Regions from separate parts of the Homo sapiens genome. Here regions 1, 3, 4, 5, 6 and 7 are each linked to region 2. The links are contacts of gene promoters, found by promoter capture Hi-C in blood cells and fetal thymus (Javierre and others, 2016). All regions are on one chromosome and are shown on one strand. The core of a region is centred on a gene start or on the middle of the fragment in contact, and the rest is flanking DNA. Distances in the headings are between cores, read along the strand shown.

Evidence for each region. Contacts are between HindIII fragments. The CHiCAGO score rates a contact against its expected background, and 5 or more counts as called.
Region 1: a fragment that was not itself captured here is called in contact with the fragment with the promoter of TFAP2B in region 2 in 9 of 17 cell types (naive B cells, neutrophils, total B cells and 6 more); the score reaches 13.4 in naive B cells.
Region 3: a fragment that was not itself captured here is called in contact with the fragment with the promoter of TFAP2B in region 2 in 10 of 17 cell types (total B cells, endothelial precursors, M2 macrophages and 7 more); the score reaches 10.7 in total B cells.
Region 4: a contact is called between a fragment that was not itself captured here and the fragment with the promoter of TFAP2B in region 2, in 2 of 17 cell types (total B cells and naive B cells). The highest score is 7.0, in total B cells.
Region 5: a contact is called between a fragment that was not itself captured here and the fragment with the promoter of TFAP2B in region 2, in 1 of 17 cell types (neutrophils). The highest score is 7.2, in neutrophils.
Region 6: a contact is called between a fragment that was not itself captured here and the fragment with the promoter of TFAP2B in region 2, in 1 of 17 cell types (neutrophils). The highest score is 6.0, in neutrophils.
Region 7: a fragment that was not itself captured here is called in contact with the fragment with the promoter of TFAP2B in region 2 in 17 of 17 cell types (monocytes, megakaryocytes, fetal thymus and 14 more); the score reaches 35.8 in monocytes.

The regions. Positions count from the first base shown.
Region 1 is chr6:52,037,050-52,040,698 of GRCh38, reverse strand. All of the region lies in intron 27 of PKHD1 (PKHD1 ciliary IPT domain containing fibrocystin/polyductin), which reads left to right. Among named protein-coding and RNA genes, the nearest start is that of PKHD1, 49 kb to the left of the region's middle. The HindIII fragment of the contact is 9,281 bases long and covers 1-3,649 here.
Region 2 is chr6:50,817,381-50,820,801 of GRCh38, reverse strand. TFAP2B (transcription factor AP-2 beta) reads right to left here and starts at 1,931. Exons shown (of 7, transcript NM_003221.4): 1 at 1,830-1,931. The coding sequence starts at 1,910. It overlaps LOC124901490 (a long non-coding RNA gene), which reads left to right and starts at 1,776. Exons shown (of 2, transcript XR_007059923.1): 1 at 1,776-1,900; 2 at 3,158-3,421. The HindIII fragment of the contact is 1,562 bases long and covers 1,868-3,421 here.
Region 3 is chr6:51,997,325-52,000,679 of GRCh38, reverse strand. The region is part of intron 35 of PKHD1 (PKHD1 ciliary IPT domain containing fibrocystin/polyductin); the gene reads left to right. Among named protein-coding and RNA genes, the nearest start is that of PKHD1, 89 kb to the left of the region's middle. The HindIII fragment of the contact is 1,970 bases long and covers 609-2,578 here.
Region 4 is chr6:52,057,586-52,061,053 of GRCh38, reverse strand. It overlaps PKHD1 (PKHD1 ciliary IPT domain containing fibrocystin/polyductin), which reads left to right. Exons shown (of 67, transcript NM_138694.4): 15 at 1,012-1,126; 16 at 2,453-2,731. Among named protein-coding and RNA genes, the nearest start is that of PKHD1, 28 kb to the left of the region's middle. The HindIII fragment of the contact is 2,171 bases long and covers 1,088-3,258 here.
Region 5 is chr6:52,269,830-52,273,550 of GRCh38, reverse strand. MCM3 (minichromosome maintenance complex component 3) reads left to right here. Exons shown (of 17, transcript NM_002388.6): 11 at 195-321; 12 at 1,100-1,250. Among named protein-coding and RNA genes, the nearest start is that of MCM3, 13 kb to the left of the region's middle. The HindIII fragment of the contact is 2,292 bases long and covers 396-2,687 here.
Region 6 is chr6:52,239,107-52,242,795 of GRCh38, reverse strand. The region is part of intron 1 of IL17F (interleukin 17F); the gene reads left to right. Among named protein-coding and RNA genes, the nearest start is that of IL17F, 3.5 kb to the left of the region's middle. The HindIII fragment of the contact is 2,419 bases long and covers 779-3,197 here.
Region 7 is chr6:52,018,670-52,022,118 of GRCh38, reverse strand. All of the region lies in intron 33 of PKHD1 (PKHD1 ciliary IPT domain containing fibrocystin/polyductin), which reads left to right. Among named protein-coding and RNA genes, the nearest start is that of PKHD1, 67 kb to the left of the region's middle. The HindIII fragment of the contact is 1,127 bases long and covers 689-1,815 here.

The DNA.
Region 1 (3,649 bases), core at 181-2,680, 1.2 Mb before region 2:
AGTTCAAGTCAGAAGGAACATCAAGGAACAAAAAGTCTTGAGTCAAAGTTAGACTGGCTTGTTCCAGAATGTCATGGAGGTTGCCATGGCTGGAGTAGATTGAGTGAGGGGAGAGCAGTAGAAGATGACCCAAAGCAAGTTATATGGCCTTGGGGGATATGAATGGCCCTCAGCTCACTCAGCTTTTATTCTGAGTGAGATGGTGGCCATTGGAGGATTTCAAGTGAAGTGACATGATCTGACTTAGGCTGCTGTGTGAGAACTCACAGTAGGGAGGCAAAGATGGAACCAGCAAGACCGGTTAGGAGGATATGACAGACATCCAGGGGAGAGATAATGTTGGCTTGGCCTAGGGTAGTATACCTTAGAAATAGGTAGGATATTTTATTCTTTTCTTTACCCCAAGGATCTCTTTTTTAACTTAAAAAATTGAGATATAATTCCCATATCATAAAACTCATTTTTAAAAAGTATAAACTTAGCAGTCTTCAGTATATTCACAAAGTTGTATACCTCATCACCACCTGATTCAACAACATTTTCATCATCATGGAAAGGAACCTGTATACATTAGTAGTCAGTCACTGTTTCTCCCTCTTCCCAATCCCTGGTAACCACAGATATATTTTCTGTCTAAGTGAATTTGCCTATTTTAGACATCTAATATAAATAAAATAATGCAACATGTGACCTTTTACATCTGGCTTCTCTACTTGGCATGATATTTTTAAGGTTCATGTATGTTGTAACATGTATCAGTACTTTATTCAATTTTATGACTAAACAATATTACATGGTATGGATATACCATATTTTGTTTTCCATCCATCTCATCATGTGCATTTGGATTGTTTCCACTTTTTGATTATTATGAATAAGGCTGCTATGAATATTTGTGTACAATGATTTGCAGGAATATATGCTTTCAGTTCTTTTGGGTATATACCTAAAAATGGAATTGCTGGGTCATATGGTAACTCCATGTTTAACTTCTTGAAGGATTGCCAAACTGTTTCCAAAATGGCTGCATAATTTTACATTCCTACTAGCAATATAAGAGGGTTCCAATGTGTGTTAGTCCATTCTTACACTGCTATAAAGAACTACCTGAGACCGGAAAGTTTATAAAGAAAAGAGGTGTAATTGACTCACAGTTCAGCAGGCTATACAGGAGGCTTGACTGGGGATTCCTCAGGAAACTTACAGTCATGGCAGAAGGTGAAGGGGAAGCAAGCACATCTTCACATAGTGACAGGAGAGAGAGAGCAAAGAGGGGTACGCTATGCACTTTTAAACAACCAGGTTTTCTGAGAATTCACTCACTATCACAAGAACAGCAAGGGGGAAATCTGCCCCCATGATGCAATCATCTCCCACCAGGATCCTTCCCCAACATTGGGAATTACAATTTGATATATTTGGGTGAGGACGCAGAGCCAAACCATATCACAATATCTCCACACCCTCACCAGTGCTTGTTATTATTATTTTTCACAGTAGCCATCTTAATGGGCATGAGATGATACCTCATTGTGATTTTGATTTTCCTAATGACTAAAAATGTTGAATATCTTTTCATGTGCTTATTGGCCATTTATACATCTTTGTAGAAATGCTTATTCAAATCTTGCCAATTTTTAAATTGAGTTATTTGTCATTTTATTGTTGAGGTGTAAGTTCTTAAAGTATTTTGGGTACTAATCACTTATCAGATAAATAATTTGCAAATATTTTCTCCCATTGTGTGAGTTGCCTTTTCACTTTTTAAAAATAGTGTTATTTGAAGCACACAAATTTTTAATTTTGTTGAAGTCCAGTTTATATTTATTGTTATTGCTTGTGCTTTTGGTGTCACATCTAAGAAACTATTGCCTAATCCAATGTTACAAAGATTTATGCCTATGTTTTCCTCTGAGGGTTTTATAGTTTTGGCTCTTAGATGTAGGTACCTGATTCATTCTGAGTTAATTTTTGTACATGGTATGAGGTAGGGGTCTGTATTAGTTTGTTAGGGCTGCTGCAATCAGGTACCACAAACTGAGTGTTTTAAACAACAAAAATTTATTGTCCCATAATTCTGGGGGCCAGAAGTCTGAGATGAAGGTGTCAGGAGTGTTGGTTCCTTCTGAACCAAACTTTGAGGAAGACTCTGTTCCATGTCTGTCTCTTAACATCTGGTGTCTTATAGGCAATCTTTGGTGTTCCTTGGCTGGTAGAACACCACCCCAATCTCTGCCTTCACCTTCATATGGTATCCTCCCTGTGTCTTGCTTGTGTCCAAATTTCCCCCTTGCACACCCCTGCCAACTTTTTTTTTTTTTTTTGAGACCGAGTCTCATTCTGTTGCCCAGGCTGGAGTGCAGTGGTGCGATCTCAGCTCACTGCAACCTTTGCCTGCCAGATTCAAGCAATTCTCCTGCCTCCTGAGTAGCTGGGACTACAGGTACAAGCCACCATGCCCAGCTAATTTTTTGTAATTTTAGTAGAGACAGGGTTTCACCATGCTGGCCAGGCTGGTCTCGAACTCCTGACCTTGTGATCTGCCTGCCTCGGCCTCCCAAAGTGTTGAGATTACAGGCGTGAGCCACTGCGCCTGGCCCAAATTCCCCTTTTTATAAAGACACCAGTCATATTGGATTAGGGCTTATCTTTTTTTTAGTGTGACCTCATCTTAGTTTAATTACATCTGCTAAGATCCCATTTCTGAATAAGGTCACATTTGGAGTTATTGGGATCTAGGGTAATAACCTAAATTTTGGTGGGGATGTGGGAGACATAATTCAGCCCTAAACAGGGTCCAACTTTGTTATTTTGTATATGGAGTTGTCCCATTTTGTACATGTGCAAAAATATTAGTAGCATAATTTCCTAGAAGTTGAATTGCTGGGTCAAGAGGTTATTTGCATTAAAAATTTTGATAAATATCAAAAGATTCTCTTTAGAGGTTGCATAATTTATTGCCTAAGCAACAATGCATATATGAGTGTTTATTTACCACATTTTACTAACACGGTGTGTTCCCAACCCTTTTGACACTTACCTATTTTATAGGAGAAGAAGAATATTTCATTGTGGTTTTAATTTGTGTTTATTTTATTGAGAGAGAAATTGAATATCTTTTCATGTGTTTAGGGGCATTGTGTTTCCTTTTCAGTGAAATGTCTGTTTATCTCCTTAGCCCATTTTTTCTAATGGGGTTATTGTTCTTTCTTACTGATTTTAAAGAGCATTTTATGTATTAAGGATATTTGCCCTTTATTATCATTTGTCTCTTTGTTTTTTATTTTGGAAATTCGTAAATATTTTTAATTTTTACATAATAAAATATATCTTCCTTTTATGGCTTCAGGACTTCTAAAATACTTAGGATAGACTTTGCAACTCTGAAATTATATGAAAATAAAAATTCTGCCATGTTTCCTTCTAGTCAAAAAACTTTCTTTTTAATATTTAAATATTTGATAAATTGGGAATTTATTTTGGTGAAGCATATAAGGTAGAAATTCAAATTTAGTTTTTTTTCAGTGATATTTACTTATTTTATTTACTGAATAATTTATTTTGCACTTATGTGAAATGTCACTTATATCCTAATCTATAGCCTCATACTGATCTGCATTTCTTCTGGACTATATTTTATTTTACCACA
Region 2 (3,421 bases), core at 682-3,181:
TGGTTACTTTTTAGAACCCACTGAAATGCCTCTGCATGCATATAGCTTGAGCTGTTTTCACCATGGCCCCGTGCTTGCTAATGTCATGCCCACTTTGGGCGCTAATATTCTTTAGGACAGTTCTAGCGCCTTGGACTTTACCATTATCCCGCCTGTTAAGGAAAGAAAAGGAGGCCGAACCGAAACAATCCCCACCAGGCGCGTAGGCGCGGCTCTTCGTTACAGTCGATACACAACCACAAAGAGAAAAGGAAAACCCCAAGCATCATTCAGCAACAAGACCAATCTCTCTCCTCTCTGCTCTCTCGCGCTCTCTCCTGCTTTTCTCCCTCTCCTCTCTTATCTCCTCCTCCTCTCTCCTACATACCTCCACACATACACACACCCCAACATTAGGATTCGGGGGGGGGCAGGAGGTGTGGGCGCCAGGCGCTGCCTGTGGGCGCTCGTCCGAGCCCGAGTCCCCCAGGAGCTTGCCGGCCGCGCCTGTGAGTCGCCCACTCTTAGGATCTTCGAGGCGGCTCTGCGCCGGGCTTTCAGGAGCTGTCCCGATCCGGAGGGGTCGCGTGTCTTTCTCGGCTCTTTGGGGAGCCTCTGCATCCCTCCACCTTTCGTCTGACCTAGCGGCCCGCGCCCGCCACCCGGGAGTCTGCTTCTCTTCCTTCCTTTTCTCTCCAACTTTTCCTCTTAGCAATCTCCATGGCCCGCTTCGCCCGCCTCGACTTCCCTCCTTTTCTAAATCCGCTTCGCCTTTCCGAAGTTTTTATTTCCAACCTCGACGTCTCAGCAGAACCTTCCCTTCCTCCCTTCCCCTGGCAACCACCTGGGGCTGTCCCAGACCATTCCGCTTAAAAGCGAGGCTCCGCGGGCTTCCCGGTCCCCAGCCTGGCCCGCCGCGCGCCCCGCGCCTCGCCCGCCTCGGCCGCCTCTCCCACCTCGCCCGCCTCTCCCACCTCGCCCGCCTCGGCCGCCTCGTCCGCCTAGTCCGCCTCGCCCGCGAGTAGCGGAGCCGTCTGGCCGCGTCAGCCCTCGCCCGAGCCGGAAAAGGGCTTTGGCGAGCGCGGTCCGGGCCCCGGAGGCGGCTGGCGTCCTCCTGGCTGGGCGCAACTTCTCCTGCCCCGAAGAGTTGAGCTAGCCTCAGTGCTAGAGACCCGTACGCATTGAACGTGGGCAGAAATTTCCGTGAAAGATGCCCACACAGGAGGCGGCTGCGATTTCTGTTCGGACGCAGTGACCCTCAAGGAAGCAAAACACAAGAAAACAGAAACTAATAAACTGCTACGACTTCTATTTTGCTCTATCCATCCATATCTCCAGCCATCTACTTCTTTCCCGCTAATTCTCTGTCCTCTACTTGGAACCATTTGTTATCAATTTCAGAAATTTTATTGAAAATAAAAATTAAAAGCCCGAGTCTGTTACAAATGAGGCTTGAAAACCCAATTCTCTTCCACACTTAAAACGAGAAAAGCCCCTGACTTTATCAGAATCTCGATTTTCTCTGAGAGCGTGCCCACATTCAGTAGCACCACATTCCCCATCAGAGCTTAAAAGGGTGGGGTGGGGTGGGGGGAGGCGAGGAAAAGGGAAAGAAAAATAAAATAAATAAAAACATTCCTAAATTAAAGTTGTCAGATTTCAGCCTTAAAGTCCCTTTTCAGAGCAGCGAAGTCTTCCCTAGCCAGCTTTTCTAAAAGTTAAAAAAAGCTGAGAAAACCGACCGGAAATCTACGAGTAAATAGCTTAAAAATATATATCATTTGGGGTATCAAGAAGCTCAAATTCTCTATCTGCAAAGCTCTAAGGTGCATCTGGGGGTGTCGACTCACCTCATAGATATCTTCGTACTTGACATTCTCCACAAGCTTCCAGAGCATGATGGCAGCCTGGTCTCTAGGAGGTGAGTGCATTCATGTGAGGAGCAGATGTCTGGCTTCTCAGGACTCCGCTGTCTGTAATGATCCATCTATAATTGGAAATGGGGGATACACACCAAATCCGACGCTCCTCTCCCATCGCAACTTATATCTGTTGTCTCAAACAATAGGCTGGACAAGTAAGCCTCAGCAAAGAGAAAAAACATTATTGCACACACAGGAGTTAGATGCAACCCACAGACATATATACTATAAAAATCATAAACCCGTATTTACACCCAGACACCCACATATAGTTATATAAGCACCTCTGGGTCACACAGTCTGCAGACTCCAAATGTGCATTTAACAAAGAGTTGTTCAGGGTGATTAATATAATATATACATTTTATAACTTCTATATCGAAAATGACACATCATTGTAGCCACTAACTGAAGTCTTTGCAATTCATAATGAGAAACCAGGGGCCATCAGTCCCCTATTTTCTATGTAGATTTTAAAGGGGGACACTTACCAAGATTTTTAAACACAAAAGCTCCCTCCTATTCATGTATGTTCCGGAAGAGAGTATTTTGAAAGGCTGGATATGGGGGATTTTAAGGACTATCTCTGTGTTGATGGCTACACAACTTTTTTTTTTTTAACTTTATCTCTGTCACCATAGAACAAAAAAGCTAGCCACCGTTGATGACCATTTCTAATATTTTCTGGTCATTTTACCTAAAACCTTTGGAAACTTAAATACACCTCAGTTTGTGCTGCTTGTTATTTTAGGTGTTGTTTGTATGCATTTTCAACGGATTCCATGCACCATTCCTCTTGGCTGGAGTCTCCATTTTATCAAGTTTTTTTCAGATGTTGGAAGCAACGTACGCACACGTTCAGACAAGGTTAATTTTGAGCCTTTTTTGCAGAGGCCAAGGACATTTTATATTTGCATCTGTTGTGTATGACTTGTAAGTGGTTTTAATCATGGAGAGTCAAGAAAGGGCCACCCGAATCTTTGAAAAGGTTTAAGCAGAATGTCTTCAAAGAGATAGTGAAAAATATTTTAGTGCATGTGGAGTTTCTTCTTTTTTTTGTATAATTTTTCTTAATAAGATGATTCATATAGTTTTTAAAAAGGAAAACATCATCAGCAACAAGAACAATATTAACCAGACTTAGAAAATGGGCACCATTTAAGGCGCAGGGATTCTGAATTTTATCATGAAATGAATACTCATCTGTTCCCCTGTTCCCCCTTTCCCATCCCCTCTGTTTTTCTACTCCCTTTCAGGGTGCGGAGAGCTTCTCATAGCCGGAACAGACGCCCAGAAGAGGATCTCTGCGCCTGGGACAGAAAAGAAATGCCAGGAGGGACCGAGGAGGGATGGGGCAATTTGGGGTGGAAGTTATTAAGCCTGGTGAGAGTGAATCTGCAAAGGGTGATTGTCTTTAAATCCAGGACTGCTGTGTGCAGCTCTGCGCGAACAGGGATGGACGCTGTTTGAGTACAGGGCTCCGGACAACCTTGTTGGACGTCGATTCAATCAAAACCAAG
Region 3 (3,355 bases), core at 344-2,843, 1.2 Mb before region 2:
ACACTACTCTTAACTTTTATCTTAAAATAACAGTTTCTGTGCTCAGTGGAAAACCGCGAGCTTTATTAGCCCTGTGAAAATGTCCCTATGAATGACAGACAAAAGGTAGTCCTATTGGAATGTGACATGATTATTTATTTCCTTCTAAAGTACAACTTCATAAATTGAAATTATTTTTTTCTAAATAAATACTGTGTGTAATTTTCTCAATGAAACCATATGTCATGGGATTTTTGTTTTTGACTATAGGAGTATAATGCTTACATTTTTTTTCTGAGCCTTTCCAAATATGAAACTTTAGCTATCCTGCAGAGAGGCCTGCTTGCTATGAAATTGCTATAGATGGTACAATGGCCTCACATGGGGATTCTTTGGATTCTACAGGGGAGGTGAGGCTTGGTAATTGAAGAACCAGAAGTGTTCAAATTAGTTTACTTGCTGACTCATTGGGTGACTGGATAACTCAGTTTTGTAATCTCAAGTTGCTATTTCTCGACCAGCGACATGGAAAGATTTTATGGAAGTCCTTAGTAACAGAATGTGAAAACTGTGATATGTCAATATGTTATTTTATCAGTATATTTAATTCTTCATGTGCGAGAAAAGCTTGCTTTTCCACAGGTCCATTTCTTGAATGCATAGTAGTAAACTACCATCTCCCTGAAGCCTGATGAAGAATTAAAGGCACCCAACTATGAGTAGGTTCCTTTCCCAGGTATGAAGGGTCTCAGATAGTAGTTGAATGGGTTTCAGTGGTATATGTGGTGTGGTGTGTTAGTGGTGGTGGTTGTGGTATGTGTTGTGTATTTGTGTTGAGTAAGGAGTAATATGAATTTCATCAGTGTTTGGATATGTGGTTCTATACTAGACATGTTAAACATTTTTTATTTTGCTGAAAGCTCTAATATGTTATCAGTTTTGAGTCTAATATACATAGCATTTCTATTTGCAAAAACAAATAATCATCTCAGCCTTGAGATACAAAAGGCAATTCAGTCAATTTGGAGAACTTGGGTTTTCTCCTCAGGGTTGTCCTCTTTTTAATTCTTGTTGATTCAGCCATAAATCTTCCCCTCCAAAGACCTTGCTTTTATTCCCACAGCACTGAAGTCTGCTCTTACTTTAAAGAGCCACAGTAACTGCTCCTAACATGCACATCTTTATTAGGAAATGTAGGGAACCTTGACCAGATAGCGCAGAGCAGCTGGAGCCTGGAAGGTGAAGAAATTTGGGTAAAGATGAATGGGTTATTCAGATATTAAAAGTGTTATGGAAACGGACTTCATCGAATTGAAAATCAGCTCAGAAAAAAAACAAAAACAAAAACTCCTGTGTCTCAGGGAGTTAGAGGAGAAAAGAAGGGGAACCAGAAGGGAGAGGCAGGAGCATTGGGAGGAATGAAGAATATTGAACTGGTTTTAGATAAAGGCTGTTACTTGGAGATAGAAATGACCTTAATGGTATTACTGTATGTATGAGTGGATGTTAACTTGCATTAACTCTATAAAATGGTAGTTTCAGGCATAGGCTTTTTCCACTTTCTGTTCTTTTTCCACTGGTGCATTCCAGCTTTGAGCTAATCTCCTCGGGCAGGTCAAATAAGGGTGTGTAGGCACAACTCCTCTAAGAGCTTATTTTAGTTACTGTCTTCTTGAATTGCTTTGCTGGTAGGAGGGTTAGGCAACACCTCTTCTAGTCCCCTGGCTGTCCTTGGCTGGAGTTAGCTGATGGTAGACTAGTGGCAGGGTTGTGGATATCCCAACAATGCCACAAAGTCCCTTTCTGGTTGTATCTCTCCATGGAGCCAACATAAATGTAAATCAGCAGAAAAGTGTGCAGATGAGAAGATATTGTCCATAAAATACACACCAATGGATCATTTCAGCTACACCAGAAGAAAGGAAATGTGTTTTTTCTAGAGGATAAAAGAGAAAAGTAGCCATTTAATGAGGGAATAAACTACCCTGAAGGGTATATACATTAAAAAAAGGGAAAAAAACCAAACAAAATAAACAATAAAACAAACAAATAAACAACAGGAAAGGCATGCCTTGATTCTATAGGTTTTACAAAGAAAGCTCTAGCTCCTTTCTAGAATATTATAATTACTAAACTAGTCTTCTCAGGTTCTCCCTTTGATGGGAGATGCAGAATAACTTGGAATATTTTGAAGAGTTCCCTTACTTCCAGTTAAGTGCTAGTAACCTCCTCAAATTAATGGATACTTAGTTGATTTTTTAGACTCCTTTTCTCCTTTACCTAAGAGAATTTGCAGCAGCTTTGCAGTTATTCCCTCTGTGACAGTGATCTCCAATATCCAGTTCTTTATTTTGAGGTCAAGGAAGCACTTCCCTTCCCAGCCTTTTGAAGTTTGATAGGGCCATAGGACTTGTATAGAATGTGGGTAGAAGCACTGAATTTCTGGAGCTCAAATCTCTAGCCTTTTTTTTTTTTCTGTGTTGACTAAATAGCCCAGAGTGTGGGCTGAACATACGTCCTCAACATATGGGGGACAGTTGTTCTGTCCAAGAGATTTGCCAACATCTGTAGTGGATGTTGTGTGAACAAGACATAAGCTTTTGTTGTATTGCTCCGCTGAAAACTTGGGATTATTTATCGCCACGTGCAATCTAGCCAGACTTAACTGATGACACCATTTTTAACAAGTGGCTCTGCAGCCTTGTGGCAGACCCACTCTATTCCACATGGTGTCTTTAATTAGTTTTTCTGTGAGTCTACAGGGAATCAGAACTGGATTTACATTCTTGATGGCAAGTATGACAAGTTAAGCTATGAGATGGAACCATTAGGCAGAAACGACTGATGGGACTTAGTGAGGAAAGGTGGCTGGACATTTGATATCATTCAGCCTCTTTTCATCCTCTGGACTCCCACTCTCCTCCCATGTCATCGGTGATGTGTTTCCACCCTCATCTGCAGTCCTGATGCCCTGAAGATCCTCTGTGGGATTTTCTAGTACTGAGAAATTAATCACTTTCTTTGTAATGTTGTTGCAAACAGTGGAAGTTTCTGGGGAGACATGACTATTCTTGGCATTTCTGCCTGTGCTAAGTCTCTATTTATTTCCTTCTAAGAAACACACTGGAATATTGTGCATCAAGAAACTTTCCTCAAATAAAGAATATATTTTACATCCATTTCCATAGCTCTCTATAATCTGTTTATAGATAGCTTCCAAACTTATGCTCTTTCATTTTTTCTCTTTAAATTTTACTTAAAAAAATTTGTTATGAAGACTTAAATCACAAGGGAAAAATGACTCAAATCATTTGATAAAGAGACTATATTGGCTCACAGAACCGATGATAAAGATGTTATACTGGCTCACAGCACA
Region 4 (3,468 bases), core at 924-3,423, 1.2 Mb before region 2:
GTGAGTCAGCCTACCCCAAAAGGCAAAAGAACATTTTGACTTCTATAGTAAGTGTTGCAGGGTATGTCCCTTTAACTGCCATTTTGAGGAACCACAAGCCAGGTAGTAACTAATTTTCCATTCCCTCTCTCATTAATCTCTTTAAAATCTAAAAATTTTAAATTAAAAAATTAAAATATTCATTTATTGGTAAGTTAATATAATTATATTGTGGACTTTTAAAGTAGTTATGTTTGAAGCTATTTTTAGGTATGAAATTATCTCAAAAATAAAGATAATGTATGTACATTAAAGCAAAATTTAAAAACATCTTTATATTGATCATCTGAAGATTTAAGAAAATAGCATTATCAGAAAATATTCTTGGTATTTATTTACAGAGTCTAATCAGTTCTTTAACTATATCTGCCTATAATATTAGGTTGCTGGAATTTAAATATTAAAAATATTATCTTTTAAAAAATGTTTTATGAAATTGCCTGTAATCTTCTTCAAAGTTGCATTTGATGGGTTTTAATTTGAAATTGTTGACATTTTGAATTGACGCTTATCTGTGGATCATAATATTTTTAATTAGAAAAATGCTCTCTGCAGGTGTTGAGGTAGCTGGTAAGCTCAGAGCAAATTCTCATAAGCAATCTGTCTTTATTTCTAATAATAAGAATAGTATTTACTATAGATTGAGCTTCTACCATGATCCAGGGCTTGCAATAGCTGTGTTAGGTGGTTTTGTCAGCTAAGCTTCCGTATAGCTGTGTGCTGTGGCTACAACTTTCCCAAACATGACACAACAGCAAGGGTATTTGTGTCCAGTGTAGAGATGTATTGGGCTACTGAGACTAGGCAGGTGCTATATCTCTTTCTAGAATATTCTGGACAATTGTGTGGCATAAGAATCAGGTTGTTCTTCTTTATTACCATAAAAGAAGACAAAGTACAAGGGCAGTCATTTGTTGGTTCAGTGATTCAGGCCTTGGTTACTCTTGCTTGACTCTATGTTCTACTTTACAGAGCACGGCTCAGTGGGTTCTTTGTGGCTCCAGAGACAAATAATTACACTTTCTGGATTCAGGCAGATAGCCAAGCTTCCTTGCATTTCAGTTGGTCAGAGGAACCAAGGACTAAGGTATTCACTGTCTTCTCATTTTCCTTTTCTCTGTTGCCAGTCCCATACCCATGAAGAAAGAAAGAATCAAAGTTAAGGCTCTCATGTTTTACAGATAGTTTAACATGCCATTGGATGATCAGGAACTTTAATTGTTGAAAAAGAACTTGTTTGAATGTGAACGTACTATTTATTGAGCATTTACTGTAAGCCAAATATTATGCTACATCTTTTATAGACCTTGTCTCTAGTTTTCACTGCATCTCTGCAAAATGTATGTATGTATGTATATATGTATATATATTATGTATGTGTTTGTGTGTATATACACATATATACATAAAGATATATGTATGTATCTTTTCCACATGAAGAAATTGAGGCTTGGAAAGATTGTGTGGGCCAGGTGTGGTGGCTCATTCCTGTAATCCTAGTGCTTTGGGAGGCTGAGGCAGGCAGATCACTTGAGCCCAGGAGTTTGAGACCAGCCTGGGCAACATGATAAAACCCTGTCTCTATTAAAAATACAAAAATTAGCCAGGCATGGTGGCGCATGCCTATAGTCCCAACTACTTGAGGGGCTGAGGCAGGAGGATCACCTGAGCCTTGGGCAGTCGTGGCTGCCACTGCACTCCAGTCTGGGCAACAGAGTGAGACCTTGTCTCAAAAAAAAAAAAAAAAAAAAAAAAGAAAAAGAAAAAGAAAAAAAAGAAAGATTGTGTGCCCAATCCACTTGGATAGCAAAAGGCACATTGAGGATTCAACCCCAAATTTACCTGACTACAAAACTTGTGCCTTTTCCACTAATTTTGGGTGGAGATGTAGGCAGCTGTATGTAGGAATTCCTCAACAACATTGAAGGATAAGAAAAGATGCCTTTAACAGCAGCCAAAATGCACTTATGCTATTGACAAAGAATCACAATATTTTCCTCAAATTATTACTATGTATGTCTGAAATTGATTTGCTAGTTTATTGGAGAAATGTCATAGATTTTGATGTGATCAAGTCATTCGAGGTCTCTGAAGGGCTTAATACTACCTTCTCCATAGTGTCATGTAATCCTAGGGTTTAGGTTGGTTGTTCCTTCTCTGAACATGGCCCATCTATTCTCATTTGAGTACTACTCAATTGTAAGAGATAGATAGATAGATAGATAGATAGATAGATAGATAGAGAGCTGGAGAAGCATAAATAACCACAGGGCTGAGGTAACTGGGTTAATATGTTAAAAAGGCAGACCAGTTCAAAACTCTCTTGATAGTAGCAGTTCAGACACTTAGTGTTTGAGAAAGAGATGCCTGGAAGCTGCATAGTATTGATCATGATATGCTTATTTGGGCATAGGTGAAAGTGGCCTCCATCAGCGTCGGCACTGCTGACTGGTTTGACTCCTGGGAGCAGAATAGGGATGAAGGGACCTGGCAGCAGAAGACTCCCAAGTTGGAGCTGTTGGGTGGAGCCATGTACTACCTGGAAGCAGAGCATCATGGGATAGCCCCAAGCAGGGGGATGAGGATTGGTGTCCAGATTCACAACACCTGGCTGAATCCTGATGTGGTCACCACTTACCTACGGGAGAAGCACCAGATCCGAGTCCGAGCCCAGAGGCTTCCAGAAGTACAGGTCTGTGTCTCTTTCCAGTCCCATGGAGCTGAACTCTGGAAGGAATAAAGTCCCATGTAGCAGGAGCACTGACTGGGAGTCTGGCGACCTGAGGGGTCATTATAACCTTGCTGTCAAAGAAATAGGATATCTCTTTAACAGCATTGTGAAGATGTTTACAAAAATGTGATGTCTTATTCCTGAGATTATCTTACTCATTGAGTTAGTTTTAGGAATTTAAGTTCCAAGCAAGTCTTCTTTTAGAAACTTATTTCCCAGAAAAGAGACAAGGTCCTCTAAACACACGCCCGACATGTATGCGTGCATGCATGTGAGCATATACACATTAAATTCCATAATTTTTGACTGATTGAGGTCCTATTTCCCTATAGCCTGTGTTTTCTAAGTCTACTTTGAAAAGGTCATGTCCTTTGGGTCTCTCAGCTGTGCCCCATATTTTCTTTGAAGAGTTTTTATGTGTTATAGTTTTTGTTGTTCACTTTTTGGTGTACAAAGACAAATCAATATGAACTCTGCCCTCTAAAGCTTACAGTCTAAAAGTAAAACATGTGCACAAATAACCATAGAACAAAGTAGAAAGTAACAATTGATTTAAGAGATTAAAAGCTGGCCAGGTGTGGTGGCTCACGCATGTAATCCCAGCACTTTGGGAGGCCAAGGCGGGCTGATCACAAGGTCAAGTGATCGAGACCATCCTGGCCAACATGATGAAACCCCATCTCTACTAAAAATACAAA
Region 5 (3,721 bases), core at 292-2,791, 1.5 Mb before region 2:
GTCTGGGAATAACTGAGCATCTTGTGTGAGCCAGGCAGTTCCACTATCTTTATTTGTGGGTTCCATGTGTCTGATTCTTTTTGGGCCCTTTCTTTATGAATCTTGGTGTCTCCCCTTCTTGTGCTATAGAAGAAGCAATTTCCCCTGGGTTAAACTCTTTATTACTCTCCTTTCTCCTAACTTGGGTATACCAGCTATGCCCTTGGGTAGTGCTGTGGATATCCTGGCCACAGATGATCCCAACTTTAGCCAGGAAGATCAGCAGGACACCCAGATTTATGAGAAGCATGACAACCTTCTACATGGGACCAAGAAGAAAAAGTGAGCATTCTCATAACTCTTCCTCAAGGGAACCTGAAATATGTGTTATATTAGAGCATGTGTATATCTAAGCTTAGCTAAGGCCTTATATGCCCAGGTCAAAGCCATGCCTGGAGTCATAACCACGTGGATTAATTTTCTTCTTTTCTGGGTCCACAATATATCCTTTATCCTGGCCAGTTGCCTTGTAAATGTTTAGGTGATTCAGCGCAGGTTCAGGTCTTTTCTTAAAATAGAGTTTTGATGATACGCCTGATGGTGGGTGTGCCTTATATATGAAAGATGGCAAGTGTCATGTAGCCATTTGTGATGAAGGGTCAGCAGATAGCAAACATTTGAGACTTTGTAGGTAGACTTGGTGAAGGAGACGTGTGATCAGGTGCTCAAAGCATGAAATGTGGGATCTTACACCTATTTTTGGCCATGATGCAGTAAGAAGCATAGCATAATCTTCAAAGCTGTTGGTTTAAGAATGTAGAATTTGGAGTCAGAAAACTTTTAGTCAACTTGAGCTTCTCTGAGCTGTAGTTTTCCCACCTACAAAATAGAGCAAATAATACCTAAACTTTCTGCCTAAACTACCTAACTTACAAATAATACCTGTAATAATTAAATAAAAATATGTGAAAGAGTCTTGTCTATGTTCCATATAAATGGGAGTTATGATAATGGGTTCTAGGCTTTGTTTTGACCCTGGCTTTTCTGAGAGGCAAAGCCACTAATCCAGGCAGGTGGTAAGGTGTGGCAGGGAGATGGAATTCACTGTGTGTGGCTCCAGGGAGAAGATGGTGAGTGCAGCATTCATGAAGAAGTACATCCATGTGGCCAAAATCATCAAGCCTGTCCTGACACAGGAGTCGGCCACCTACATTGCAGAAGAGTATTCACGCCTGCGCAGCCAGGATAGCATGAGCTCAGACACCGCCAGGGTGAGTGCCTGGGGGAGCCTAGGCTTGGGGTCCCTTAGGTATATGGCTGGGCAGGAGTCCCTGCTATCTGGGAGCTTTGAAAGCATTTTAACTTAGTGACTTTTTTCCTGGTCTGAAGGGCTTCCTGTTATACAATTTTAATCATTTCCTTTTATAAAGGAAAATGAAATAAGGACCCCAGAGATAACATGTCTCTTATTAGTTAAAATGACATTGGCCTCCAGAAGCTGTGATTCATTCAGCAAACATAGGAGTGACTTCTGGGAAGTGACCTAGTCTTTCCTCTTACAAGCAATGTAAAATTAATAAACACTCTTTTCAAAGAGCTCAGATCCGGAGCGGGGGAAGCACAAAGGTAGATAGAAAGACTTCCGTACATATTTATAAATATTTACCCCAGTGTGGTACTTACAAAGGAATGAACGTGAAAGGCTATTTGAGCATAGACGAATAAACTGTTAATTTCTTTTAGACTTCCCTGAAGGGGTATGAATGTCAAGGAAGGATTCCCAGAGAGTATGATATTTGGACTGGACTTTGAAAAAATGACTAACAGGCAACCATGATGGTTATTCAAAGCAATTTCTGGTAACCTAATATAGGTGTCCATGAATTTGTCTAAATCTTTTTTTTGTTTTGTTTTTGTTTTTGTTTTGGTGAGACAGAGTTTCACTCTTGTTGGCTAGGCTGGAGTGCAATGGCGCGATCTCAACTCACTGCAATCTCCACCTCCCTGGTTCAAGCGATTGTTCTGCCTCAGCCTCCTGAGTAGCTGGGATTACAGGCATGCACCACTACACCCGGCTAATTTTGTGTTTTTAATAGAGACCAGGTTTCTCCATGTTGGTCAGGCTGCTCTGGAACTTCCTACCTCAGGTGATCCGCCCGGCTTGGCCTCCCAAAGTGCTGGGATTACAGGTGTGAGCCACCATGCCCGGCCCAAATTTGTCTAAATCTTTTAGGGGCAGTGTAGTTCACATAGGATTTTACAGCAGAAAGACCCAAGTCCAGAACTCTTATTATGTTACATAGACATAGATTCTTGGATTAGACATGATCCCAGATCATCTACTCAAGCCTCACCCACTCTGTCTTTTCAAATCCCTGCTGGGACTTTTTTTTTGAGATGCGGTCTTGCTGTGTTACCCAGGCTGGAGTGCAGTGGCATGGTCTGGGCTCACTGCAACCTCCGCCTCCCGGGTAGGTGGGACTACAGGTGCGTGCCACCATGCCCGGCTAATTTTGTATTTTTAGTAGAGACGGGGTTTCACTGTGTTGACCAGGCTGGTCTCAATCTCCTGACCTCGTGATCCGCCCATCTCGGCCTTCCAAAGTGCTGGGATTATAGGCATGAGCCCGGCCGGGACTTCTTAATACCCCCAGTGACAGCATGCGCAGAGCATCACTGTTTTGAAATTTTAGAATATTTATTAAGCTTAAACCTATTTTCCCACAACTTTTACCTGTGGGTGTTAGTCTTGTTTTCTGGAGGTTGTGTATCGCCTGTCTTCCTCATTAAACAGCTTACTTTCTTTTTAACTGTTCCTTTCCACATGCGAACTTCTGGTGTGTCCCAGGCCCTCTCATTGAACCTAGAACTGAGCGTCATACACTATTTTAATTGTCTTAGTGTGGGGTCTGTAAGTGAATTCCAAGAGAATTTGGATTCTCTAGGTCTGCTAGTGCAGGCCAGGATTTCACCAGCTTTTTAGGTGGTTTAAGAATTAGAACTTGTCATGGAGTGTATGACTTCCAAACTCCGGTAGCTTTCTAAATTATTACAAGATTTGATGAATGAATTTAAATGTGAATGTATTTATTTTTGAATGTCATTGTGGATATACATGGTAATTTAGGAAACTTGAAACAAGAAGTGACCAGGATACGTCAGTGATGGGGTCATATAATGGGAGACCCGGGAGGTGTGACAGAAGGAAGTAGTTTCTTTTTTTTTCTTTTTTTTTTTTTTTTTGAGATGGAATCTCGCTCTGTTGCCCAGGCTGGAGTGCAGTGGCATGATCTTGGCTCACTGCAACCTCTGCCTCCCGGGTTCAAGCTATTCTCCTGCCTCAGCCTCCTGAGTAGCTGGGATTACAGGCATGCGCCACCACACCGGGCTAATTTTTCTTTTGTATTTTTAATAGAGATGGGGTTTCACCATGTTGGTCAGGGTGGTCTCAAGCTCCTGACCTTGTGATCCGCCTGCCTTGGCCTCCCAAAGTGCTAGGATTACAGATGTGAGCCACCACGTCCGGGCTGGAAGTAGTTTCATGTCTGATCCCAGCTCTGCAGCTAGCTTTTGGACTGTGGACAAATCCTTTCACCTGTCAGGTCAGCTTTCTTATCCATAAAATGAGAGGATTGGATACATCAGAATCACCTGAAACTTGTACACATATCTAGTCCTAAACACTGAGATTTCTGATTCATTCATTTCCAATTCATTCTGATTGATTAGGTCAAGAAAGGCC
Region 6 (3,689 bases), core at 739-3,238, 1.4 Mb before region 2:
ATTAATATTGTTATTATTGTCCTGGAAATTCTGATCAATCCACTGAAGTAGATGGGAATACTTTCCACTTTATACAGATGAACAAAAGCTCAATTAAGCTATTTATTTAACATTGCTGGATACTGTAAGCACAAGAACTGGTACACCAATCTAAGCTTTCTGTCTCCACATACAGTATGCTTTTCTTTGGTTCAGAGGCAAGATTTGTGAATTTAAAGCCATTGCATCCAAGCAATTCTGTTGGGTAGCTTTGTGCTCCATAGCTATTTCTAATTCTAGTTTCCTTAAAGAAATCTGTTGGGTTGTCAGCAAGAAACATAACAGTGCAAGGAGCATTGGAATAGGATTAGAAGTTGAGAGGTGCAGGCAGATAGGACATCTTCAATAAGTAGTTGAGGCAAATTCTCATGGACCTAGAGGTTGGCCAGGTGCATGCTTACATGTGTCCACACATTGCTGGTGAGTATAGAGGATGGATGTTCAGGTTGCTCAGGTGAGCTCACATTAGAGTGAGGTGCAAAGCTAGGCTGAGAAGGTTGTTGTCCTGTTACAGCTCACCTTCACCTGGTGCTTTCCCTTGCCCCTGTCCCCTATTATACAGATTGAGAGCGATATCTATTCATCTGCTTTATAGGTGGCATATAAGAGTTCAAGTCATGCTCTGGATTTCTCTGAGAGGTGCTGTTTAAATCATTCTTAAGAACCAGCAACAGCCTGGTTCAGAGCCCCTGCTCTGTATTACATAACCACTAAAATCTACAGTTTCAGATCAAAAGCTTTGTGGAGCAAATTGGAGTATTTGCAGACATCATCTGATTTCCTGATAACGAGCTATGTGACCTACAACACTTATGCACATCTAGTACAGCTGTCACATTACCTAAAACACTTAGCTCTTCTAATGAGACAAAACTAAGATTAATGTTGGTAATAATAAAAATGACCTTCAATGACAATAGCACTGACTACTGACACCTAGGTTTGAGTCCCCAGACTGGTACTCATAGGCTGGTGAACCCAATCAAGTTATTTATTCCCTCTGGGACAGAACTCTTTCACCTGTCTAATTGGGATAATTAATACTAGCTCTGATTACCTCACCAGGTAGTTGTGAAAATCCAGTGTTTAAAGAGATGTAAAAGAATTTTCTAATATACTCTAAGAATATATAAGCAAATGTAATAATGACTTGTTAGAAGCATTGTAATTATTGCTAAGTCATATAACTCCAATGTATGTATTTAAAAGTTTTCATAATGAAAATTAATAGTGATTCAGTGAGTATGACACAGAAGAGGAAAGAGAAAACACAAAGGAGGAATTTACTTAAGAACCCTAAATATGTGATTGGTAGGCTTGGGAAGTTATCTAAGACCCTCTAATATAAGTTGGCATCTTTTAAAAAAAAAGTCATAGCAGGCCAGGCGCGGTAGCTCAGGCCTGTAATCCCAGCATTTTGGGAGGCCGAGGTGGGCAGATCACTTGAGGTCAGGAGTTCAAGACCAGCCTGACCACATGATGAAACCCTATATCTACTAAAAATACAAAAAATTATCAGGTGTGGTGGCGCACGTATGTAATCCCAGCTACTCGGAAGGCTGAGGCAGGAGAATCGCTTGAACCTGGGAGGCGGAGATTGCAGTAAACCAAGATTGTGCCACTGTACTCCAGCCTGGGCGACAGAGTGAGACTCCATCAAAACAAACAAACAAACAAACAAACAAACAAACGCCATAGCAGTTTGTCAAGACAAGGTATATGAGTGTAAATTCCACATCTGTCTAGTCCACTGTGTAGCACAATATAGAGTTAGCAAGAGTCGCCAGTATTGGATACTTATCATATGCTGCCAGTGTTCTTCATAATTTATATGGATCATCTCATTTAATCTTCACATTTTTTTTTTTTTTGAGGAAACAGAGTCATCGCTTCTAAGAGTCCTGGAATTGAGTTACAGACCCTGGACTTCTGACTCTGAAGCCCATGCCCTGAGCTACCACACTGTAAAGTCAAGAGCTAGTTGTTGAATGAATGAACGATTGTGGGGGATGAAAGTTGATGATTGCTGATTATCTAAAGGCAAATCAGCCTCATTCTGACTCTTCTGGGTCAATCTTGCTTTCAACTTCTTTTTAGTGTCAGCTTCCTCAGTATGGCAAATGGACACTATGACCTTTTTGTTTACTCTTATTGTTTTTTGTCTCTAGTATCTGCAAAATATGAAAAGGAAGGCCTTTGAAACCAACATGTCTAATCACCTTCCCTACCTTAACTCATGGAAGGTGTGAGCCTGAACAACGCTAAGCCTAGAGAATAAAAGCAACTTATTTTCAGCTCTTTTTTTTTTTTTTTTTTTTCCAAGCAGGAGTCTCGCACTGTCGCCCAGGCTGGAGTGCAGTGGTGCAATTTCGGCTCACTGCAACCTCCACCTCCTAGGTTCAAAGGATTCTCCTGCCTCAGCCTCCCGAGTAGCTGGGATTGCAGGCGTGCACCACCACGCCTGGCTAATTTTTATATTTTTAGTAGAGACGAGGTTTCACCATGTTGGCCAGGCTGGTCCTGAACTCCTGACTTCAGGTGATCCACCCACCTCGGCTTCCCAAAATGCTGGGATTACAGGCGTGAGCCACTGCACCCGGCCTTCAGCTCTTCTTCTGTATTATGTTGAGAGTTGGTGATGGGCCTTGCTCATCCCCAGTAAGGGTCAGTGGCAATGGTGGGTGAGCAAAGCATGGTTGTGACAAAGGGAATCTGGCAAGATTTGTAGCTTTTCTTTTCATTAGGTCTTCAGTGCACTTTCATTCTTTGCGCATTCCTATAACACCAGATAAACTGGCATTTCAACGTAAGTATAAAAAAAATGCTCCAGAGCTAAAGAGAAATAGTTTCCATATTCTCTCTTGTGGTGCATCATTAGTGCCCCGGTTTCTTTCAATTAGCATGGATAATTGGAACTTTGCTATCGTTGGTTTTGCGTAATGTTTTTCTTAATGCAGTGAGCTTAACTATATAGTTCAATTTAGCTGTATCATTTTGTTCATTCATTCACTCATTCACTCATTCATTCCAAAAGTGTTTATGGAAAATGTGTAATATGCAGGAACTTACAATCTAATGGGTGTAGATCTGACAGGAACACAAATACTACATTTCTAGACAATTAAAAAATGCTGCTTGAGTGCTAGATGATCAAAGCTTTATAATTTAAGGATAATAAACATGCTTCTGATTGAACCATTTTAGGGACTGTTCTTAGAGGAGATCACATCTGAGCTGGGCCTTAATGGAAGGGTAGGATTTTGACAGACAGAGTATTCTAGGCAGTGTATTCTAGGTAGAGGGGTGGCTCCGAAGAAGGATTTTGTGGGAGATTCATGGGATATCAAGTTGGAAATAAAAACAAGAGCTATCGTTTATTAAGCCTCTATTTTTCTTATACAGATTTATAGGTGTTTTATATAGAACATTCTATTTAATCTCATTAGTAGTCTCATAAAGTGAGCATTATTATCCAGTTGGAAGGAAGAGAAACTAGAGGCTCAGCAAGGAAGCCAGGATAGGATTTTAACTCAATCTCAGACCCTTGCATCTTTCTGTCTCACTGTTTGGGAGCTTTTAGACTATGGAGGGCTTCAGTTACTAGCTAGGCTACTGAGTTTAGTTCTCAGTTTGGCACCTTGATACCTTTA
Region 7 (3,449 bases), core at 3-2,502, 1.2 Mb before region 2:
AATACCCCACTGAGCTTCAGGAAATAAAGTCAAAAGGAAGAAATTACTGTTATTACTACAGGACCTTACTACATTTGAGATAGCTCACATTTAGCCAGGTGATTACCTTATTTGCCTAATCATAAATCTTGTACCTGTGCACTTAACCGTTTACATACCTCCTTTCTGTGTAGTGTTTAAGTTTTATTCCTAATTTATTTGTCTGCAACTTGAATGTGGGCTAAAGATTTACAAAATGATAAAAGCACCACATCATCTGAGCTTGGATGAGAATTTAATGATGGATAATGCTATTGTGATGGAAATTTGTGCTGTGTTGTCTTATACAAAGAGGAGAAGGAGGGGAAGGAGGAGGGGGAAGAGGGAAGAGGAAGAAGAAGGGGAGGAGAAAAAAATTTTTGTTAAAATGCTAGAAATTGAGTTTCCTATTATCATCATGTATATAAACACATTATGGAAGAGAGATAGAGTCCACAATGGGAAATTTAAGATACAATAGAAGATTGAAGTTCAAAACATTGTCTGATTCACTGCTCTACCTCCTCTGCTAGGAACAGTGTTGCAGAGGGTATGTGCAAAATTAGTGCTTGGTGAGGAATAAATGAGAGATAGCATAAACAGAAAGCTAAGACTGCACATTTATAGGCTCTAATTTTTAACTAATACTGCTACATTTTTTAAAAAAGCTTTCATATATACACTGCTCAAATTAATATACTTTTAAAAGCCCCGTGTTATTATTTCAAAACACTTAATTTCAACTAGTATAAGATAAAAATCAATGATGTTTCAGGATCAGGTAAGTTGTGATATTTTAAGTTTTATAACTTCTTGGGGAAGAATAATAAAATAATTATTGTGTTTAGAAAGATTTAGAAAAGAACTCAACATTCCATGATTTTTTAAAGAGGAAAATTAGTTGGAAACTGTAACTATTTATATGGCCACTAGGTGTCACCAAACACTCATTGATTGTGCAAGGCACACATTTACTCTAGAGGAATGCATAATTTAACTAATTTTCCTTTCATAAAAAAGTCTTTTAAAAGACTTTCAATCACAATGTCTAAAGATTGAGAGGAAATTGTGAGAGCCAACTCCAGAGGTTTCTTACTTAAGATCCAAGATGGGATTTGGGGATTCTGTTAACCCGCTGAAACTGGATGAAGCATTTTGAGTGTATGACTGTGTATTTTTTTTTTTTCCCTAGGAAGTAGGTCTATAATGGACATCAAATGTCAAAGGGGATAGGTCTTAGACATTACTAGAAACTACTACTAATTTCTCCATTTTCAGACAGGATTGAGTACAACCAAGTTAGCTAAAAATCACTTGTATTTTTAAAGATTTTTCAGGGGAGAATTTCCCAGCAGCAACCCTTACAAGTGTTTCGCAGTTGCTCTTTTCAGAGAAATCCATCCTCTGCCTAATGGATGCTCCCCTACTCTAATTTTTTCAACCTTAATCAGCGGGTGGTTCTTTGGAAAGTGGAGTATTCTTAGTTCCTCTATGGCAGCAGTTCTGGAAGTGTGCTTCCCAGAGCAGTAGCTGCAAGGGCCTCACCCGGGAGCTTGTTAGAAATGTGAATTCTTGGGCCCTACTGAATCAGAAACTTTCCAAGTAAACATTTTAGTATCTCACTTTTCAGCCCTCTCTGAAATCCTATATTCTTTCCTAATTTGAAGCCCCAAATGAGGAAGCTGTTCTATACAAGCAAGTTCTGGCCAAATTGGGTAGCATCGTAAGATGCCTGTGTATCGTCTGATCCCATGTTTGTTTGTACAATTATACTGCAGTCTTGCTGGTTAATAAGCTTTCTGTTACCTACTGTTATCCCAAGGGGTGTGTGTGTGCACGCACGCATTTCTACCATGGCTGTGCACAGCTGGACTTTCCTCATATTTATATGATTTCTTTTTTTCTTTTGTAGTTTACTGTCTTACTCTTTTCATTTGTTCTTTTGTTTATTTCTGTTAACTTCTCTCATTTACCAAGGTCGCTTTGAATTCTGACCCGTGCTTTGAGTTTTTTTCTTCAGTTTGACTTTGTACCATAGAGTGATGTTTCACATTCCAGGTTACAGATAATGACCCTGAACTCAAACGTTCTTAATTATTGTTTTGTTTATGCCTGTGCCACAGAACTAATATGTTTTCTTTACATGTGTGGGGCAGGGGGAGTTAAAGCAGGGGGCTCTACAAATGTGCTTTTGCTATTTTGGAGGTCACCCATTTTTACCATCCCCACAAACTGTACTTCTAACCATAGGAGAAATTTCCTTTTTCTTGTAATGAGTTGCCAAAACATCCTGTTAGGTGAAACTAATACTTTGTGTTTGTTTAAAATGAGCAAAATCTTTGATCTTTGGCTTTCTTGCATTTATACCTTGAATTATACCACATGACATTTTCATGGAAACTTTAACTTTTCCATAAGGCATGGAAAGCTAAAGTGATTAAGGTCACGCAGCTATTTAGTGGCAGAACTTTGAGTAAAACCCATAGATTTTGATCCCCAGCCCTGGGTGATTTTCATAATCCTGCTTGTCAATTTGCATCTACTTAATCACCTTTAATGAATTCATTATTTTATAGGTGTGGAGCTTGTTTTTATTTGCCTTAGGGCTTACTAACTGGAAAGTTCTTATGTTTTGTCTGTTCATACAAGAGTCCTACTGTCAGTCATTTTTATTGCTCTAATTCATTCAAAACACATTCACAGCCAACCTCCTAGGTGCCAGGTGCTTTAGAATATAACAGCAACAATAGTACTATTTGGGCATGATTGCATAACTACAAACCCTCCCCCACGTACTTATCTCATGTAACCCTTGCCACAGCACTGTAATGAGGCGGGGAAGCACAGGTCTAAGCCCACGGCCCTTGATAACCTCTGTTGCATTACCCACATGGGCAGGCTTGCTGCAGAGGAAGCAGGCTACAGAGATTTTTTTAAATTTTCCCTCTTTATTAAGGTTTTCAGACAGAGCTGCTCCTAAACCATCTCATGTGGAGCTTTGTTCATCTTCTAGTTAAAGATCATTCCCAGTCTGCCTCATGATGCTTTTTATATGTGGGTCATGACTCAGAAAAAAATGGCCTGAGAGTCAGCATGCTTCAAATACTTGCTTTTTATCTCTATAACATGCTAATGTTTATAATTATGTGAAAATCAAGAAATTCATAAACTTATCCAAGTCAATAAGACAAACAACCCAATAGAAAAATGGGCAAATGAGAGAAACAGGAATTTCACAGAAGAGAAAACATGAGTTGTTACCAAACATAAAAAAGTTGGTCAACTTGGCCAGGCACGGTGGCTCATGCCTGTAATCCTAGCACTTTTTGAGGCTGAGGCAGGTGGATTGCCAGAGCTCAGGAATTCAAGATCAGCCTGGGCAACATGGTGAAACCCTCTCTCTGCTAAAATACAAAAGATCATCCGGGGTG